2 separate regions of the Homo sapiens genome follow, and region 1 is linked to region 2. Evidence: promoter capture Hi-C in human tissues and cell types (Jung and others, 2019). All regions are on one chromosome and are shown on one strand. The core of a region is centred on a gene start or on the middle of the fragment in contact, and the rest is flanking DNA. Distances in the headings are between cores, read along the strand shown.

The links. The method cuts DNA at HindIII sites, captures the fragments that hold promoters and counts their contacts. A contact is called where the count stands out against the background at its distance.
Region 1: a fragment that was not itself captured here is called in contact with the fragment with the promoter of ZSCAN2 in region 2 in 2 of the 25 tissues and cell types used here (lymphoblastoid cells and thymus).

Annotation. Positions count from the first base shown.
Region 1 is chr15:85,079,468-85,082,647 of GRCh38, reverse strand. The region is part of intron 5 of PDE8A (phosphodiesterase 8A); the gene reads right to left. Among named protein-coding and RNA genes, the nearest start is that of PDE8A, 99 kb to the right of the region's middle. The HindIII fragment of the contact is 5,315 bases long and covers 1-3,180 here.
Region 2 is chr15:84,599,731-84,602,932 of GRCh38, reverse strand. ZSCAN2 (zinc finger and SCAN domain containing 2) reads right to left here and starts at 1,924. Exons shown (of 3, transcript NM_181877.4): 1 at 1,798-1,924. LOC105370947 (a long non-coding RNA gene) reads left to right here. Exons shown (of 4, transcript NR_186225.1): 4 at 3,130-3,202. RefSeq lists a silencer at 1,557-1,706 and an enhancer at 2,027-2,076. The HindIII fragment of the contact is 21,972 bases long and covers 1-3,202 here.

The DNA of each region.
Region 1 (3,180 bases), core at 78-2,577, 480 kb before region 2:
AGCCCCAGCCAGACCAATCTGGGACAGGGGTCCCCTTAAAGAGTTCCTTCTACTACCACGGTGAACGCAAATGACCCGTCTGAACTGTGATCAGGGTCTTGTCTGGGTGTCAAGCAACCTAAAAATCTAGCCCTTGGTTCGTGCCTTAAAAGCTGTATGATTGTATATGAGGCACCTAACATTCCTGAGCCTGTTTCCTCAACTGTAAAGCAAGAAAAATAATACTGTTCCTACCCAATGAAGGTCACCGAGAATAAAAAGACATGATGGGAGAAAGCATTTTAAGTACAAACTGCTGCATAAATGTAAAGAACAGCTACTGTCACCCCCACAGGGGAAGGCAAGACCTGTTGACCAGGAGCATGATAAACCTTATACCTATAGGCCAAAACAGAGCCCCTTTCTTACCCAGAGGTCTGACAGAGGTGACATGCCTGCCAGCTCCCACCGACTGAGAAGGGAGGAGTATGCTAGACCTGCTGTCCACACCTCCATCAGCCAAGACCCCATGGGAACACCCAAAAACACTGGACAGGAACCCACTTCTGATTGGGCAGGGACAGGGAAAAGAGATTTCTTGACATAGTGCTTGTGCCACTCCAGGAGACATGGAATCGGGGCCTTGAGATAGACAGGGGTCCTCAGTTCCTCCGCAGGTAAGATTCTGGGATGTGAGGGCTGTGGAGGGGATGTGAGGGCTGTGGAGGGAATGTGTATTTATCCATTTCCACAAATGGATTCCCATGCATGCAATCAGACTTTTTAATTGGTCTGAATGTTATGTATCCACCAAACTTTTTTACCCCAAAGGCAGAAATCAAGGTAAAAAAAACTAGCATGTGACCAAATGTACAGCATCTTGCTCCTGTTTGCCCCCTCCCTCAAAACTTTTGTTTTGCTATGCGTGTTTAAACACTGTTCTCTTTATCTAAACATCTCATCTTTCCTGCCCCTTGCCAACTTTTGTTTCTGTCCCAAGGATCCCACAGGGCATGGAGGGTGAAGAATCAGGTCCAGGGATCCTCAGAAAGCAAGCTTATTCCCTCTGCTTAAACAGCGGTTAGTCTCCTCTCCCTTAACCTTCTTCCACGAAAGGGGCTGGGACTACAAATCCTAGACTTCTAAGCTAACTTAACCTCACTTTCTCCAAAGCATATCACACCCACGGCTAGGACCTGAGCCCATCTTTGCTAGGCCTCTCCCAGTGGTTCTCAACTCTCAGCTGCATATTAGAATTATCTGCAATTTGAAAAAACACCAGCATGCAGGCCCCTCCCCAGACCAACTGAAACAGACTCCCTAGGGATGTTATTCAGGTGATTCTAATGTGCACCCAGCAGTGAGTCTACCGACTCAATGGCCAAATCCAATTGAGGAAGCTAGCAGGTCCTCCACCTACTTTTCAATCCTGAAACATGGCTAAAACACAAAATAGCTCATGGCCTTTCCTATGCCCCATCCCCTGTACCAGAGATATCATTATGGTGTTAGCTTTCAGATTCAAGCCTTGGCACCACCGCCTACAGCCATGACTGGGAGAATCCCCTTCCTCCAGGTCTAACTCTTCTTCTCAGTAACCTGAGCATCCTTTTGTCACACAAAAGTAAGAGACTCTGGATGAGATTAGTTAGCACTAATTAGTTAGTGGTCTCTGAGGACTGGTTGACCGCATGAATTCCTCACCTACAAAATGGAGAGCCTGCCACTACCTCTACATTTCCTAAGTCAGGTGCTTCTAAAGTGACTACTGTAAAGCTTTTTGGGCTTTTTGCATGGACGTGTCCTCACAGGGGCGTGCACCTAAAAGTGGTTCCATTGAAGTCTTCAGGGGGTTCCTTGATTTTGATTAAGGTGTGCAGGCTTGAGGCAGCAAGAGTGTGTGTGTCAGTTACTTTTCAAGTTAGCTCCATGATAACACAGTAATACTAAGAAAATATAAGGACCATGATTTACTTGACCTTCTACCAGGATGCTCTTTCTGGTCCACAGAACTATGCTGATAGACTTCTTGGGCAGAATTTCAAACACGGCAGTCACCAGGCACAAATTTCCAACAGTGCATCTATGTACTTTCAAAGAGACCTCAAACAAACACAAGCCTTAATGACCTCATGCGGCTGTAGGTAAGCAAATAACCCAAGGCAGAGGGAATAATCTATCCCCTAAGTTTCACTAGAAAGTGGAAGCTTCTAAGGTTCTTGTTAAAAGGAATAGCCAGTTTTGCGGCCTTAGTTGCAAAAGCAAGCAGCTTAGGGAGGGATGACATAAAGATCCATAGGGGACTTCTGACTTCCAACCTGGGACGCCTTACTGCTGGCTAAGTAAACTGTTCTCATACAATTTAACAGGAATTACTAGAGGTCAGGGAATGGAGGTAGGTGCTGATGTGTATGTATGTTGTGGGGGTTGTCCAAAAAGGGGGAAACACAAGAAAGCCACAGCTATATAATCAATAACCTAATGTGTGCTTTTTATATAAAACTGTATTTACATATAAACTAAAATCTTAAATTCCACCTCATCTGATATTAATATCAATATCAATATCTGTGTTCTTTTTGTCTGCATTTACTTGCTACCTCTATGTTCTTTTACTTAAGCTCCTTTTATCATGTTAAGTGTCTTGTAACTGTTATAGAATTGTACTTTTTCAACCCAATCTAACAGCCTATCTTTTAAAGGAAGAATTCAGCCCATTCATATACATTTGCTTTTATTCTTTCTTTTTTTTTTTGAGATGGAGTCTTGCTCCCACTGTGCAGGCTGGAGTGCAGTGGTGCAATCTCAGCTCACTGCAACCTCCACCTCCTGGGTTCAAGGGATTCTCCTTCTTCAGCCTCCTGAGTAGCTGGGATTACAGGTGTGCGCCACCATGCCCGGGTAATTTTTGGATTTTTAGTAGAGACGGGGTTTCGCCATGCTGGCCAGGCTGGTCTGGAACTCTTGACCTCAGGTGATCCACCTGCCTCAGCCTCCCAAAGTGTTGGGATTACAGGCGTGAGCCACCGTGCCCAGCCTGCTTCTATTCTTTCTATCTGACTTTGTGTTTCTCACTGATTTTACACTGTTGTTTCATCTTTCTTCAGCTTCTCAATTTGATCAAGTTGCTGTAAACTCCCTATTTCCTCTTGTTATTTTGGAAGTTTTACTTAAGTTTCCTGTTCTATCAGCGGTTACCCT
Region 2 (3,202 bases), core at 675-3,174:
ATAAACTATGACACACCCATATAGCAGCATGTATTAGAAACTGTGCTATAGGCTTGGCGTGGTTGCCTGTAATCCCAGCACTTTGGGAGGCCTCGGCAGGCGGATCACTTGAGGTCAGGAGTTCGAGACCAGCCTGGCCAATATAGTGAAACCCCGTCTCTACCAAAAATACAAAAATTAGCCAGGCATGGTGACGGGCGCCTGTAATCCCAGCTACTCAGGAGGCTGAGGCAGGAGAATTGCCCGAACCTGGGAGGAGGAGGTTGCAGTGAGCCGAGATCGTGCCACTGCACTCCAGTCTGGGCGAAAGAGCCAGACTCTGTCTCAAAAAAAAAAAAAAAAAAAGAAAAGAAAAGGAAAAAAAAGAAAAGAAACTGTGCTATAATAATGGCTACCTTTAGGTGGTAATGACAGGAAAGGGGCTCAAAGGAGCCTTCTGGGATGATGGAAATTTTCAATATCTTCATTTGGCAATGGCGGCACAAGAGCAAACATATGAAATTTAAGATCTGCACATTACGCTGTATGTTTTTAATATTTTAAAAATTATATTGACAAAGATTAATCATTAATGATTTAAGATAATCCTTCTGATAGGAAAATAATGGATAAACACAAAATCAGCAGGGCAGAAAAACCATAGACACAGTAAGTCCTCAATTCCCTTTAAAAATGAACTCACAGCCGGGCGCGGTGGCTCAGACCTGTAATCCTAGCACTTTGGCAGGTTGAGGCGGGCGGATCACCTGAGGTCGGAAGATCGAGACCAGCCTGACCAACACGGAGAAACCTCGTCTCTACTAAAAACAAAATTAGCCAGGCGTGGTGGCGCATGCCCGTAATCCCAGCTACTCCGGAGGCTGAGGCAGGAGAATCGCTTGAACCCGGGAGGCAGAGGATGCGGTGAGCGGAGATCAGGCCATTGCACTCCAGCCTGGGCAACAAAAGCAAAACTCCGTCTCAAAAAAAAAAAAAAAAAAAAATGAACTCACAGGAAAAAAGAACGGGACGGCACCTACAAAATATTGAAAGCAGTGGAATTGCAAACGACTTAAAATATTATAAAAGCAATACAAAATTATTTTTAGCCCAAGCGCTGTAGCTCACGCCTGTAATTCCAGCACTTTGGGAGGCCGAGGAGGGAAGATGGCTTGAGGCCGGGAGTTCATGACCAACCTGGGCAACAGAGTGAGACCCAGTCTCTACAAAAATAAAAAAATTTTTTAAAAAATCATTACTACATCATAAAGACTCAACTAACAACCCTCCCTCAATGAAAAGGGGAGAAAAGCTGACAAAAGCTTAAAAAAAAAAGGACAAAAAATAAAAGCTAGTGGGAAAACCGAAGCTCTCAACGTGTATTTACTCAAATGACTAGAAGAAATACTGGCATATGGTGTAAGAGAACTCTTCCTACTTGGGAGCCTGGGAAAAGTGTGCCAGGTCAGCTAATTTGCGGTCTGACTTGGGGCACGACACGCCCCCTCTGAACCTCAGTTTCCCCATCTGTAAAACGTGTACGCTGCGCGGGATGTCGTCGAATGCCCCTTCCCGTCCAAAGCCTGCGCTTCTCGGTAGGAGAGGCAAGGAGCTCTCCGCCAGGGAGACGCGTCCGGGACGGTTCGCTGAGCGGAGCCGGCGCGTAAATCGGGGCTGCAGGGCCCGCAGGATACGGAGCGCGACCCCGACGCCCCTCCCCCAGCAGAGCTGCCGGCAGCTGGCTCCAGGCCCACTATTCCCTCACCTCGGGCTACTGCCCGGGGTCCGCGTGGCTCCAGGCCTGCCTCTCCGGCTCACCTCTCGGGAGACCAGGTCCTGCTCTAGCGGTTGCTTCGCGTGCGAAAGCGCCCCCGGGCTCGGCCCGGCCCCTCCAGATTCACCCCGGCTCAAGCCCGTGGGGCACCGAGAACAATGGACGGGAGAGGCCCGCCCACCGCCGCGCTCATTGGCTGCCGAGAACGGCCCTGGAAATTCTGCCTTTCTGTTGGTGGAGACGGCACCCAGCCGGGCGGCAGGAGGGAGGCTGGGCCCAAGGCATTGTGGGAGATGTAGTCCGCCCGGAGACGAACCTGACCGCGGTCCCCGGAGTAGGGTTTGGGGCTGACAGCCTGGGCAGTGCCTGCGGACCAGAGGCAGGAAAATCCGCAGACTGACCGTCAGAAACCCTGTGTTGGCTAGAGCTGTAACCCGAGACAAGCCGTTTCACTTATCTAAGGCCTCTGTATATTTGTCTATAAAAAGTGAAAGTTGGATGGCCGGACTTGAAGGACCTTTTCGGCTGCGAACCTTGTGGCAAGGAGTATTGTTAGGCACCCTCGACCGGCGAGAGCGGACCCTGGGCAGGAAGGGAATCCATGGGGGAACAAATCCTCATCGCCCAAGCCTGGCGCCTTTCCCCCAGTTTGCAGCTGTACACATGCACCCGGTCTTCGCACACCCCTTTGTTTTCGCACGTGGTATTCCTGTGTTTGGAGGAACGCCCTGCCCCGCCTCCTCTGCCGCGGAACTCCCATTCTTCCAGCTTCTCCTGGGTGGAGCCTGCCCTGTCATCACCACCTCCCCAGGCAGAGACACCGCCCCTAGTACACGTGTTGGACGTCCCCATTTTATTTTTTAAATATATATATGTATGTATTTGTATATATATATATATATTTATTTATACACACACACTCACAGACAGGATCTACATTTCATAGAGACAGGGTTTCCATATGTTGCCCAGGCTGACCTCGAACCCCTGGGCTCAAGCGATCCTTCCTCCTCAGCCTCCCAAAGTGCTGGAATTACAGGTGTGAGCCACCGCACCTGGCTGACGTCTCCATTTTAGTACTGATCACCGGGTTGCTTACTTGTCAATCTCAGTATGGGGGAAGGGAGGGTGCCCGGGTGTGGGAGGTTGGCCTCCATCTTTGTGTTTTACGGCTGGCGCTGTTGAAGAAACGGCTGCCCCAACCCTGCTTGAAAACAGGTGAGAAACTACCTGGAAACTCAAGCGGAAAATCTAAAAATGGAGAGAGACACCCTTAATGGTCTGTGATAGAATAGTTATGTATGTTTGCACTGAGCAATTACTGGAGGCACCTGCAATGAAATGACTGCTTTTTTTTTTCCTCCTCTGTCGCCCAGGCTGGAGTGCAGTGACACGATCTCGGATCAAGTGATTCTCCTGCCTCAGCCTCCCAAGTAGCTGGGATTACCG